Regions from separate parts of the Homo sapiens genome. Here region 2 is linked to region 1. The links are contacts of gene promoters, found by promoter capture Hi-C in blood cells and fetal thymus (Javierre and others, 2016). All regions are on one chromosome and are shown on one strand. The core of a region is centred on a gene start or on the middle of the fragment in contact, and the rest is flanking DNA. Distances in the headings are between cores, read along the strand shown. Region 1 holds the start of MED13 (mediator complex subunit 13). Region 2 holds the start of CLTC (clathrin heavy chain).

Region 1 (7,231 bases), core at 460-2,959:
TACATAAAATTACAGTAAGTCCTAACTCACTGATGTTTCTAACTTCTGAATCATCTTTTTCTTCTTCTTTCTTTCTTGCAATCCTAAAACCGTCAGAGAAACTGTTTTGAACTCATATTGAAGTGTAACCCATCCAAGCACTGGGTGTTTTATGGGAAAGAGAATAAACCTTTTGTTTGGTTCTTACTTCTTACCACCCATTCATTTGTAACTATACAAATATCAAGCACCTACTGTGTGCTAGGAACCTTTTTTTAGGCACTAGAGAGACAGAAGTAAACAACAAAAAAATAGTGAGACCTTTACATACACTAGTTCTCCTGCTCGTCACAATAACTATATGAGGTAATGATGACAACAATAATAGTTAACTCTTAACAGTGCTTATCTGTGCGGGGCACTGGGCTACCTGCTTAATTTGTATTAACTCATTACAATAAGCTTGTGGGGTAAGGGATATGTTTTCCCCATTTTACAGATGAGTAAAGACACAGAGCAGGAAGTGATTTGCTCAAGCTTGGAACCCAGGCAGTGTGGCTCTAATTCCCAGTCTATTAACTACAGGGCAATATTTTGTTTCTTAAATTTATATCTTCATATCACAACTTTTAGGTTGAGGAGTCTTATCCCCATCCAGATCATCTGACTCCCAAATCCAGAGGTTTGCACCTGCACCCCAGCGGCCTCGCGAAATAAATGAGAATGTCTTGGAATTTTTGCCAATACTTTCTCTTCCAAAGAACTCAAACTGATTTCCACGTAATTCTCACTGATTTGTGAAATGAACCTTCCTGGACTGTAAATTTCCCCGCAAAGAGAGGGCCAGGGCCCCGGGTCGTTTTATACTGGCCGGGGCACCCAGCAGATGGCGCTATGTTAGTGGCCACCAGCTGGCTGCCCCGTCCCCCGAGCTCACCGCCTCCGCCGAAAGCTTCCCGGCCCTCCCTCGCTCACTTCTCTCTCCCCCTCCCAACCGAGCCCGGGCCCACGTGACCTCAAGGCGGCCAATGGGTGAGCAGAGAGGGCGAGCTGGTCCCTGTGGCCGCCATTAAAGCGAAGGGAAAACCCGTGAATTCGGATTAAAGGGGGAAAAACACCGCCCGCTGGGCCCACAAAATGGGGGAGACTACGGCGTCCAGCCGGTGAGGCCACAGGAGGGCAAACTTTAGGCCGGCTTGGCCCAGGAACGACACGAAGACAGAGCCAGAGAATGGTCTGAGCCCGCAGACGCCGCCACCACCTCCGCCGCTGAGGAGACTCTGGGCTTAAGGACATCGCCGCTGCCGCGCCGGGGGCCTGGGCTTCTCTCCCGGTTCTCGCCCTTCCCGCTCCTGTGCGGGCGCCTCTCCGCCCGGGAGAACCGTCCTGGGCTTGGGCTCTGCCGTCTCGGACTTGATTTTGATTATTTATTGTGTAATTTATTATTTTTCTTGTGGTAGGGGCACACATCCCCTCCGTCCCCCAGAGAGGGACGAGCGTCTGCGGGATCCGCAGTCCGGCCCGCCAGGCGAGCGCGGCGCGGCCCTCCCGCCTCCGGCCCTCGGCCCCGGGCGGCTGGGTGCCGGCCGGGCGGCGGGGGCTGCTCGCGGCGGCGGCGGCGGCGGCGGCGGCGGGGGGGTGGGTGGGGAGGGCGGGCGCCCGGCGGCCTCCTCTTCCACCGCCCCCCCAACCACTACCCCCCCCCCGGCCCTCCCCGGTGTCTGTGTTTCTCTCTCTGGTCGGAGGCGGCGGTAATGGCGGATGGTGGGTTGTGGCGCCGGCGGCGGCTGCTGTGAGGGACGATGAGTGCCTCCTTCGTGCCGAACGGGGCCAGCCTGGAAGATTGTCACTGTAACCTCTTCTGCCTGGTGAGTGCCGGGGCCGGCGGGCGCCGAGGGAGGGGGGCCGCGAGGTGCGCCCTTGGGCCGTGGGGGAGGGGGCCGGGTCTGGTCCAGATGCCCGAGTTCCCGGGCGAGGCCCAGCCGGAGCCGGCGCCCTGCGAAGCTCCGCGGCCAGCCCCGGGAGGCGGCGTTCGCTCTCCTACGGTCCCGGGCTCTGTTTAGGGGAGTGTTGGCATTTTTTCTCGTCTTGTTTCGGACTCTCCTTCTCACCGTAGTCTCGTCCTCAACTTGAGCTCCTTATCTGGCAGGACAGTAACCTTTCCCTCTTGTCTTGCTTAACTGTTGCTTTTCTCCTTATTGGCCCTGTATCCCTGCTTCACACTTTACATTATTGCCCCTGCTCCCCACCGCCTTTATGTCTTACCCTTTTAATTTGGTTTCCCCATGTAAACAGGACCCCAGAACTTAAGCCCTAGAAACCTGTCTTGGTTTTACATTTTTTTTGTATGAGTCAAACTAACGCCAGGTTAGTTTCTTTCTTGGGTGACTTAAGATCTCTCTGTAAAAGCCAGTAGGTGCCATTTCATATGTTTTCTTTTTAAACTTTGAAAACAGTTTGCCATTTTTGACAATTTCTAGCCATCTTGCTTTTATTAGAACATGATGTTTTTGTGAGAGTGAAGGGGGCTAGTGGACGAGGTGCTGTGGTTTTGCACTGTTTCTATATTTATTGTGTTTTGGTTGCTTTTTCAGAATGTTTTGAGCAGGCTGCTCCCTTGTTTGATTGAAATGGAAAGTCGAGAGAAGCGGGATGTAGGGATGATCATTGTGTAGGTTAGCCCAGGTCTGGTAACATCCAACAGTTAAGGCTTTCAGAAGTACCAACTGTTGCAAATAACTTGTCCTGTATGGGACAGTAGCTGAGCTTCATCAATGACTTTAAGTTTGGGTGACTTTACTTTTTCATTTTCTCCTTTGTGCTATGAGAAATATTAAGAGTATATGATAGGTAAGTGAGTTAAGTGGGAGGAGCACAACTAGTTGGCAAGTGTAAACTGCCAGTCATGTATCAGCAGTTTCATTTTTGGCACCTTATGCTTTGCTCCTTTAAGTTAGATTAAATTACTGAATTCCTCTTGTCGAATTTCTTAACGCCCATGCTAAATTGAGATCTTTAATACTCTATCCTCGTCTACAGTATGTTTTTCTTTTCAATGTCCATTAATCAGCATCTCTTCACATGTAATAAGACATACACCAGGTTTTATATTTCTATCTTATCCAACTCAGTCTATTTTTGGTACTTTTAGGATCAGTTCTTTGAAGATAGACTAGCACAAATCTGACAGTTCTTTGTGAGTAGCTATTTGACTTTTCCGACAGGGGTGTGTGTGAAGAATTAACATAGATTTTTTCAGAACTTGTTCAGATGTCTTTTCATTAGAGACGTTACTTCTGTAAATGTGGAATAAAAACCCATGATAGGGTCTTTAATAATTGATTTTCAGTTAAAAGTTTGACACCAGTGAACAAATGTGACCAGTTAGGACAGAGAAAAATGTACTCTGTTTGCATATTGAAGTGTGTGTCTATATTTAACATCATTCAGTTTCTTCTGTTTCTACTTGGAGTACATATTTGCTTGCTATTCAGTGACATGGTGGTGGTAATTTTTAACTGTATTCTTCTCCCTAAAATTCTTGGTTGTTGAATTATAAAGTCTTTTTTTGTTCTAATTTGCAGTCAATATCTCAAGCATACATTGAAAAATTGTAATGTCTTAATGAAATAAGAGACATCATATTGAGTACTTTTGACTTTGAGTGAATATGCAGTAATAAAACTTAATGCTTTCTTTCCTTCAGGCTGACTTGACAGGAATTAAGTGGAAAAAATATGTATGGCAAGGCCCAACTTCTGCCCCTATTCTGTTTCCTGTGACAGAAGAAGACCCCATTTTGAGCAGTTTTAGTCGCTGCCTTAAGGCAGATGTACTTGGTGTTTGGCGGCGAGATCAAAGACCTGGAAGAAGAGAATTGTGGATATTTTGGTGGGGTGAAGACCCCAGTTTTGCTGACCTTATTCACCATGACTTATCAGGTGAAAGAAACTTTCCATTTCTAACTAATGATATAGCAACATTGTATACTTCTCCCAGAATGTCATATGTATTACAAATTAAGTTTGTTTTTGTGGGAGACTTAGGAGGCCAGATAAAAATTCAGCTTCATTGTTTTATTTCACCATGATTATTTTATTTTACTTAAATTATCCATGTTGTTATAGCTGGGTTTTTAAGGCGTGAATGACTTTCTCCTTCCACCACCTCTCTTCTTAATTTCTCACAGGTAGTTAGGGCCCGAAGAAGGCATGTTACATTAATCTAAAAAAATGGAATCAGGAAACAGAGTTCCTAACAAAGTCGTGTAATAGTTTAGAAGCCAGATGTAACTTTTGAGTCACTTCAGCCACTGCTGAAGTTGAGTCTTTTGCATTGAATAGGCAGATGATTCTAAAAGTACTGGAAATGTAACTATCCGTGTGTGTGTGTGTGTGTGTGTGTGTGGTGTGTGTGTGTGTGTGTGTGTTTTAAGGCATGTATTTTGTTATTGTCATTTGTGCTATTTGATTAACTTATGAAGGCATATGTTAATTTAGTTATTTTTGGAAAGTGACTCATATACTGTTCTGTCAAACATAATAAGAGAAAAGTGCCAACTTGTTTAGCTTTTATGGGACATGGGATCATAATCTAAAAGGTTACACAAACAATTTTATTGTGAGCAAATCAATGTGATTACTTCCTTATTTTCTTGACTTTTAGGACCAAATGCTACTTTAGAAAGAGAAACTATAGCTTTTCATATAATTACTGAAGCTTTAAATTGTGAAAGTCAGTATTAACTGAATCTTAGATAATAGGAATATAAATGATTGGTTGTATGCTATAAGGTTCCAAAGACTTCAGTAAGATAGTTTGATAATGATTTTTGACAGATAAACTTAGGATTTCTAGATAATTTTTTTTAAGTTCTTATTTGAAATTGAGTACTCTGAAGTTTTTGTTATTGTATCTCTGACCTATAGGATCTATTTTATTTTTGGATAGAATGTATTCTAGGTGTCTGTATCTTGAACTGGTACTTAGTAAGACCAACATTTATGTAGGAATGTACGTGTTACATTTGTATGTTTTGATAATTGCTTTTCACATTCTAATGAACATACTCTCCAGTGTTAATTGTTATTTTTGAGAGTGACTGCAATTCTTCAAGAAAGCTTTCCAGCTTTTGTAGTTTTTCTAATAAGATGCCTGCTGCAGAGTCCAGTCCTTAGTTGTGTGTATTTAATGTAGTTCTAAATGTGTAAAGTGATGTGTATATGTATATACATATATGTACATATACATGATGTATGTATATATGGTAGTTTTAGCGAGACAATACTTTCTAATTATGCCAAAAGCTAAGTCCGCCAGCCTCCTTTTTCTTTCATTGTTTTGGATATAGTATTTGAGTTATTTTAATCGTTAAGTGGTCATAAAAATCACCTTACTAGAATGTTTGGAGACTGTATAACATTGTTGAAAAACTATAAACTATTGATAAAATATATTTGTTGATAAAACATAATTATTGATAAAACTATAATGGTGACTTAGGGGCTTTGGTCTTCTTAATAAAGTTGGCAGAGCATCTAAACAGACTAAACAGATCTTTTTTTAAGATTCCATGAAATACACTTTGTAGAATCAAAGATAATTTTAAGAGATACATAATGTTTAATTTTTTTTTTCTTTTTTTCTTTTTAAGTAGAGATGGGGTCTTGCTGTGTTGACCAGGCTGGTCTTGAACTCCTGAACTCTAGTGATCCTTCCATCTTAACCTCCCAAAGTGCTGGGATTACAAGTGTGAGCCCCTGCACCTGGCCTAGTTTTACCGTAATAGAAAAAATATTGTGAAAGTTAAAAGACTATTAAAGTTAGATGTGAGCTGCTTTGATGGATATTGTTAAAAGTCAGTTTTGTCTTCTAGGTTTCATGTTACCAGTCAGATATGTTTTCTCCACTGAAACTAGGTTACAGTCTTAAACATTTTTCTCTAGCTTTGATTTTTAGCGTAATTTTCAAAAATGGTAGTTACTTGTACCTTTAAAATAGTGATCAGCTGGGTGCCATGGCTCACTCACGCCTGTAATCCCAGCACTTTTGGGAGGCTGAGGCAGGCAGATCGCAGGGTCAGGAGATAGAGACCATCCTGGCCAACATGGTGAAACCCCATCTCTACTGAAGACACAAAAATTAGCTGGGCATGGTGGCACGCACCTGTAGTTCCAGCTACTCAGTAGGCTGAGGCAGGAGAATTGCTTGATCCCAGGAGGCGGAGGTTGCAGTGAGCCGAGATCTTGCCACTGCACTCCAGCCTGGGCGACAGAGTGAGACTCTGTCTCAAAAAAAAAAATAGATAGTGATCTTGAACGTGAATGAAAATAATTTTGGGAGGTTGGTTTTTTTTTTTTTTTTGAGACGGAGTCTCATTCTGTCCCGCGGGCTGGAGTGCAGTGGCGTGATCTCGCTCTCTGAGTGCAGTGGAGCTTGCTTGCTGCAAGCTCTGCCTCCTGGGTTCATGCCATACTCCTACTACCTCAGCCTCCTGAGTACCTGGGACTACAGGCGCCCACCACCACGCCCGGCTAATTTTTTGTATTTTTAATAGAGACGGGGTTTCACTGTTAGACAGGATGGTCTCGATCTCCTGAGCTTGTGATCCGCCAGCCTTGGCCTCCCAAACTGCTGGGATTACAGGCAGGAGGTAGGGTTTTAACTGCTGTCAGACTTTACTGAATGCTAATGAATGGTAAATAGCTTTTTTTTTGAGATGGAGTCTTGCTTTGTCGCCCAGGCTGGAGTGCAGTGGCGCAATCTCAGCTCACTGCAACCTCCACCTCCTGGGTTCAAGCGATTCTCCTGTCTCAGCCTCCCGAGTAGCTGGGATTACAGGCACATGCTGCCACACTCGGCTAATTTTTTGTATTTTTAGTAGAGATGGGGTTTCACCGTGTTCGCCAGGCTGGTCTCGAACTCCTGAGCGCAGACAGTCCACCCGCCTCGGCCTCCCAAAGTGCTAGGATTACAGGCGTGAGTCACTGCACCTGGCCGTAAATAACTTAAAAATTTATCAAAGTGAAGTGATTGAAATAATAAACTGAAATACAATTAGGAGTGGTATATGATCATATTTATTGTTCCAAAGCTTGTCCTGTACTGTTTTAGTTTGCATAGTCAGTGTTATTTATATAATATTTTAGCTTTTCTTAAAAATAAAACCTGTTATTTACTTAAGAATGTTGTTACTTAAATCAGACGTATCTTAAAGCATAATAAGGTTTTTTCAGATGGAATATATTTGTCT
Region 2 (7,447 bases), core at 1,643-4,142, 2.4 Mb after region 1:
GTCTCACTTTTTAGAAAGGTGTCTGGGGGGATTGAGTGAAGATCTGAAAGTACCTAGCCAAATTTACAGCACATAATAAGGTCTCAAGAAGTCTGCTGCTAGTCATTGTTCATCACCACCACTTTCCAAGACAGACAGTATTCAGTTAAAACTTTTGAACAATGAGTGTTTTAATTTTAGCTAACGAAATATTCTAAATACATAAACATGAGTGGTGAGATAAATCTTCAAACTTACAAAACACATCAGCATGGCCTATAATTGTGCAGTCCAATGTAGGAGTCAATTGTCACATGTGGCTATTTACATTTAAATTAAAAAGAAATTAAAGCAAAAATTTAGTTTTTCAGTCACATCAGCCACATTTCAAGTGCTCAATATCCCTATGTAGCTGGTAGACAGTTCCATCATTGAAGAAAGTTCTACTGGACAATAACTCAAAGAGAAAAAGCCACAACGGTAACAATGACAGGGAAAACACCTTGTTAAATATAATTTGAATAACATATAAACATATGTATGGAAAAAACAATTTTGCAAAGAAGCTGAGGATTCGATATAAATGGAATCTTTTAAAAGCAAGGTACAAATTCCAATTATGGTCAGAAACAATTGTTCAAGAGCAACTACCATGGTTCCTGAAATGTGAATTTTCCTAAATACTCAAATGAAAATGATTGTGTTCTACATACACACCATTCTGTGTCTTATTTCCTAATCAGAGTGAAAGCACTTTCACTAAAATTAACCACACACTTTAAGCTGGGTAAACTGACCATCAAGAAAATTCTGAAGAATATGATACATTTTAAACTTAGAAGCTATTCCCAGGAGACTGCCGCATAATTCCAGGAAGTCTACCTCTTCCAGAGAGTACAACTAAGCATGTAGTAAATCCCAGTACTTAGCATTGCTTTCTATTCACAATCCGAACTAACTATAGCAAGAACCCCTAACATTTGACTCAACAACACATTCCATGCCTGCATCTATGGATCAAAGGGGAAAGAACAGGGTAGGGAGATTTTTAATTGAAGACCCAAAGAATCTAGGAATACAATGGAATGTGTCAAGTGGCCTAAAGATACTTAATGTGCCAGAAAATTGAAAATCACCAAAAAATTAAGAATCACAGGCAATATTTTATATATGTAGCCTAGGATTTTTATAGAATCTTCAATTCCAACAGTATCTTGCTCAAATAGGCACTCATTTATTAACTGCTATCAGTCTAAACAGTCTAGGAAAAGAGAAATCTTCATATATTCACATTCATTTGCTGTAGGTCCAAGCTTTGATGACAAGAGATCCTTCAGTTGGACAATGTAGTTAAAGGGTATAAAAATAAGTTCATTTACAGTTTCACAAGGTAACTCTACACTCACACTTAAGTTCCCCATTTCTTGTTTCCAGTTTTTATCCTACGTGTTTCAGAAAGTTTTCTGCTACTTAGCAAACTGGTAGAAGCTCAGAGGTCAAAGACCAAAGATGCCAATTAAAATAATCCTTATTAGTTGGGCTCGGTGGTTCACACCTATTATCCCAGCACTTTGGGAGGTCAAGGCAAAGGATTGCTTGAGCCCAGGCATTCGAGACTAGCCTGGGCAACATGAAACTCCATCTCTACAAAAAATACAAAAATTAGCCAGGTGTGGTGGCTCATGGCTGTAGTCCCAGCTACTCAGGATGCTGAGGTGGGAGGATGGCTTGAGCCCAGTAGGTCAAGGCTGCAGTGAGCTGTGATGGTGCCACTGACCTCCAGCAAAAACCCTGTCTCCTCAAAAAAACAAAATGCTTATTAATTTTTAAAAAGGGAGGAGATAATGATATGAAGTTAGGAGATATATTATCATGAAAGAGGCTGTAGTTATTTGGGCTCCACAATTAATCAACTGGAGCACAGTCATATTAGCTAAGCAAGCTTAAGTTTAGGCATGACATAGCAATCCAAAACACAGAGGACTGAATTTTTCAATTTGCAAATCGCTTTATATTCAAAATCTTCAAATTATTTGAGAAGAAAATGGCTTCATTCAAGCATCTGCAGAAACTTTGATCCAGTTACAAAACAGACATGTATTAAATTTGTCTTTAATAAGTGACAAGGTTGGGTTCGAATCTTTGGGATCATTTAACAATTCTTGTCTCCTCTTTAAAAGAAATGAAAAGCTATTACTCCAACCACCACAAGATTTAGTAGTGAGCTACACATCTGCCGTGGAAAATAAAGAGCAGCTGTACTTGATTCTCTGTGTGGTTTATAAACATTTGTCTGCAGAAAGATATTTCAGATGCAGTTTAATATGAAAATAAGCCCGCGTTTTCCCCTCACACTTAAGAACAGCACCCCTCAACTCTCCACATTCATTTGCCACCCCACTTTAACAAAAGCAACCACAGCAACTAAACTTGGATTGATCAAAAAAAAATGTCCATTTTGTTATTTAACATTTTTAACCCTCTGTAAAAGTGTTTTTATTGCCAAGGTATATTCCATTACTTCAGATGAGTTATTTGAAAATTATAGATGACTGAGGAAAGTGCATTATTTAACTCATTTTATGGGTAAAAATTTATTATTCTTTACATTTCAAGCCTTAAAGGAAAATAAGTCCTTGCTAGTGCAAACATGGTAATACTTGCAAAGAAATATGAAATTATGTTACTTATAGCCTGAATGTTAAAACCTTTTATTAACAAGAATCCTTTATGTATGCTATGCCAATGGGGAAATGTAAATAAAAATGGTCTTCAATGGTAAAGTGTCTAATAGGTCACTGATATCAGTGTCATGTCAAACCACTGCATTCCCTGTCATTATGGAATTAGCCCTTCAGACGACTGAGCTGAGGCAGGTTTCTTTAAGGGGATATTTGGGAAGAAAGCAAATTAATAGGAATAAATTATTTAAGCTACAGTAAAAAACAGGATTGGTGACACAGGAAAATCAAAAGCTCTGAAGAGGTTTAATTCAGTGAAGCCTTCCAATGGTCACCTGCCTAGGCCCGCCACTGGCATGTTGCCAGATAACAATATGTTGCCTCCAGGATAAGGAACCATGGGGAAGAACTCTAGAACTTACTAAAGGGAAGCCAGTCACAGACCAAATAGCCCTGCAGGTCTCAGAGCAGCTGTGCTGTCCCCAGGGCTCTGTTCAATTCCATGCGATCCTGAAGAAGATATTCAAAACTACCTGCTACTACTCGAGAAGACTAAAAGATAACCTCTGTATCACTCTTTCCTACCTTCCAGAACCAAAGAGGGGTTAAGAGCCACAACATCCCCAGAGAAATAAAAAAAGGGGGAAGGGGAGGCGAGTTTCCTTAGGGAGTTTGACCGCACACACTCTGAGATTGACATAGCTCTAAGAAATGCGTTCTCCCATTCTACCCTCGTTCCGTTCTTTCAGTGACCTTCTGTCCCTACTGCCTCAGGGAAGGCAAGAGAAAAGCCACCGCCTCACCACCACCCCCAACCCCCACCACCGGAGAAGGTGCCTTTCTCAGTTGAGAGCCGCAGAGGGAGGGAAAAAAAAGGTTGCTCCTCCCCAACCCACCCGCCCCACAACTCCTGGGTGCAGACACGATGAGGGAAAGAGGAGAGCAATGGAAGGTGACAGCCCCGCACTGGCCCAGGGGATAAGAATCCTTGCTCTGGTAGAAACAAGGGAGAATCCCCCTCCCACTCCCCTACCCAAATGAATGAAATGAATAAAATGGGGAGAGAGTTTGTACGCGCAGTTCTGGCCATCCAGGAAGCAAGATCGAGAGGCCTTTGGATCCAGGCCTGGTCCTTGCAGCTCTTTGCACCCCAACTCCTGTCCTTTCCATCCAAGCCCCACATCATTTAATATTTTAAGCTTTCCAAGATAGTGCCCCCTCCTCCACCTACCCCAATCACCGACAACCCCCCCGCCCCTCCAGCTCCGATACTGCTCGGGCCCAGACTCCAGCGTCTTCCATCCTTCCTACCACCTTCTCCACAGCCCTCACCAGCCCGGGCCCGGCCGCACCTGGAGATGCTCCTGAAAACGAATTGGCAGAATCTGGGCCATGGCGCTGTCGGGGGTTATGGTCTCCTCCTGTCACTGGGGCTGCGGGGCAGTGGCTGCCCGGGCTCTCCAAGGGAGAGGAGGAGAAGGGGAGGGGGGAGGCTGGGCTCAGCAGGATCCTCTCCGGGGACGCAGGAAACTGGCAGGCAGACGAAAGAGCTCGGGTCGGGGGCGGAGGCTCCAGGGGCCAGGAGAGCCGCAATGGCGGAACCGGGCGCAGCGCAGACTCCGGAAACGGCTGAGCCCAGCGGAAGGATCCCGGCGACAGAACTCCGCCCAGTCGCCTCACCCCCTCCGCCTTATGTACCCCTCCACGGAGCGCCGCGCGCGGCGGGCGCAGGAATTCGGGGCGCAGTGCGCCCGGTGCCTCGCTTCCTGACGCCACATGGGGGGAAACAGAGGAACCGGAGGGACTACTTTTTTAGACTCATCACTTTCGCCAGTCTTCTCTTTCTCCCCCCACTTTTTTTTTTTCATTTTGCCACATCATGCGACTCGGGGCGACCGACGTCACTTCCGTGGGCGCTTTAGGTCCCACCCACGTACTTCCAGGTGCACGTGATACTGATGGGGAAGGGTCGGCTGATTGCTGCCAGAAATGGAGAGCTCGTTTTAAGGAAATGCGGCGTCTCCTGGGAGTGAAGAGGCTTTTGGGCCACCTTGAGGCATGACGGGTGCCGCTTCGTTTCCCTGCGACCGCTGCCTGTTTCGACTGAGCCCCTCACAGGAGGACGTGGCGGGGGCAGACGGGCGCAGCCTCCCGCCCTCTCCGTGACTCAGGGAAACGGCCTCGCCGCAGAGCGCTCCCTCGGCAGCTGGCTGCAGCACTCCTCCCCCGCCGGGCTTCAGAGTGGGTGGTTTCCTACAGCCTAGGGAGGGGGCCTGAAACGGGGTTTAAAATCTTCCCTGCCCTCACACAAGCCCTTCTGACTGTTGGAGAACCTGACGCGCGGATTCTAACTAGAACTGGCACTCTCTTCGGGTGTTAGATAATTAACTCAAAGGACAGCGAAGGCCTTTTATGATGTCTTTCAAGCTGGCCTTATGACAGCTTTTCTTAACGTTTCTGCGGACATTTTGGCGGACTTGTGTCGGCCTAGCTCAGTGATCAGTTTCGTTAAAGAATTTGAGTATCCGAACATTAAAGGATTGGACCTAAATTCTAGCAGGAGGATTTTTAGCCACATCAAATAATTTACGTCTCAAAGATTTAGATAATTAGGGTAAGGATGCTTAGTAAAACCCGAAGGTTCCATCGCGCCACTGCACTCCAACCTGGGCGACAGAGCGAGACTCCGTCTCAAAAAAAAAACAAACAAAAAAAAACCTGAAGGTTCCTGGAGGAAAGAGATGAACTATTAGCCGTGTATTTCGGTGGGACCACCTCAACATAGGTTCCTGTAGGTTAGCAATGTAGAAATGTAGCGCTTCAAAGCCGGAGCATCCTGTCTTCAAAGAGCATGAAGGTATCAACGGCATTCATTGTCGATTAATAATAACCTTTCTGGTACTTTCTTGCTAAAGTATAAGCCATAATAATATTTCATAATCGCACCAATACAATAAAGGATGAAAGACGTTAGTTCTGTGCCTTTTATCTTTGTAAGAGAGGTGATTCTCCCCCCCCACCCCCCGCCCCGCCGAAAGAGAAAAGCTCAAGTCCACAATAATTATTTTTAGTGTCCTTTTCAGTTAAAGGACATAAAACCCTATTGGGTAGACGATAGTTTTGTATGCTAAGCAGTTTAGGTTACAGTGAGAAGTTTGCCAATCATTTTAGTTGCTTTTAGTGTTTTTCCCTTTACTTAACTGTCTCACATACTGAGCATGAGAGAAGAGTCTGGCAGGTAAGAGGGCAAAGATTGTTCTGCAAAGAAAAGCCTTGCCACCATGTTGTAAGAGTGAATATTTATGCTTGCAAAATTTCTTTTTGTATTGTTAAGCTAAATACACGAAGATCCTCTGTTCCGCAACATTTGAAATAACCTAATGCCAGTCTAGTAATAACTGCTTTAAACCCTTTTTGGAAGTAGACAAATTCTAAATTAAAATTCTAAGGGAGTAATTGTTTTATTACAGTAATTCAATAGCTTGATCAAGTCACCTTTTCAATCTCAGAATCCGGAGATAAAAGAGCCGTATCATGAATGGGCCACCAAAATTTAATTAGTGTCTGGCATTTTCATACAGACCCTGTAACTTTAAGTACATTTAGAATCCCAAAAGCAGTTGATTTTAGCTATTTGGAGTGGAATATCTAACCAAAAAGTGCGCTGAGGTTGTTAGTGACTGCTACGTCATCACACATAGAAATTACACTGTTTTGAGAAATAATTTAGGAAGAGGAAAAATAGATCGTGATATCCTGGGTCATTTTGAAATGATCTTCAAATTAATCCAAAAATTTTCAAGAGAAAAAAAAAGTCAAGATGATAAACATTAAAAAAAAACCCTATGCCTTTTTAAAGATGAATAATTTGAGTAGGGTAATAAGAGTTTTTTTTTTTTTTTAATGGGAGTCTGCTGTTCTTGGTAACAGTATAAAGGCAGTTTCACTGGTTTCACTGGTTTAGTTACCTAAGCAATACCTGAATGGCACTGTTTTCAGACATTACCTCAAGTTAGAAGGGAGAACAGATAACCTAATAGACCAGGAAGCAAATCCTACTACCCAGAATGGCTTTTTCTACGATACAGTATGACATAGTCTTTTAATAAGACAATGCTATGAATGATCACTCTAGCTTTTGGTTTCAGAAAATGTTTTAGCAAGGTAGCCATGTTAATCAATGGTGAAGTGAAAGCTATTTTAGTTGGAATGCTCATCAACAGTAGACTATCATGAGTCACAGCAAGTGCCATTAGCAAAAACTACATTGCTTGGTCTGTTATTTTGAGGACTGCTAGTTTCTGAAAACCTATACAAGAAACCTGTGTTGTGTCACTAATTTTAATGTTATGCCAACAATTAGGATGGAGATATATACATATATATATATATATATATATATATATATATAAACACTCAATAGAATGACACCTCAAAACACAAACAAAAAACAAAAAAAAAAACAACCCCTTTCACTGTAGGATTTCTCCATTAGCTGTTCATCTTCAAGCAGCCCTAGCACTAATGCCCCTGCCTTTTAAAAACTTGACCTTTTAAAAACAGCCTGAATTCACTGCACTGCAAAAGTCACAAAGAAAAGGCATATCTCACATACTCAGAAATTAATTTTAAAGCAGAACTTTAATCCACTGTACCAAATGTTTACAATTCAGATTCCAATAAAGCCATAAAGGACATACTTTAGTATTATCCAAGTAAGATACTTGGTTTTGCCATTTAAACAGTAGCTTTGAAGCATCTCAACCCCCTGGGGCCACTGATATGAA

The links. The method cuts DNA at HindIII sites, captures the fragments that hold promoters and counts their contacts. A CHiCAGO score of 5 or more calls a contact.
Region 2: a contact is called between a fragment that was not itself captured here and the fragment with the promoter of MED13 in region 1, in 1 of 17 cell types (fetal thymus). The highest score is 6.4, in fetal thymus.

The regions. Positions count from the first base shown.
Region 1 is chr17:62,059,756-62,066,986 of GRCh38, reverse strand. MED13 (mediator complex subunit 13) reads left to right here and starts at 1,709. Exons shown (of 30, transcript NM_005121.3): 1 at 1,709-1,847; 2 at 3,686-3,920. The coding sequence starts at 1,782. RefSeq lists silencers at 919-998, 1,789-2,068 and enhancers at 1,049-1,308, 2,219-2,318. The HindIII fragment of the contact is 3,767 bases long and covers 934-4,700 here.
Region 2 is chr17:59,616,739-59,624,185 of GRCh38, reverse strand. CLTC (clathrin heavy chain) reads right to left here and starts at 4,291. Exons shown (of 32, transcript NM_004859.4): 1 at 4,013-4,291. The coding sequence starts at 4,054. RefSeq lists enhancers at 4,204-4,498, 4,228-4,577, 5,028-5,147, 5,158-5,207, 5,045-5,857. The HindIII fragment of the contact is 1,938 bases long and covers 1,924-3,861 here.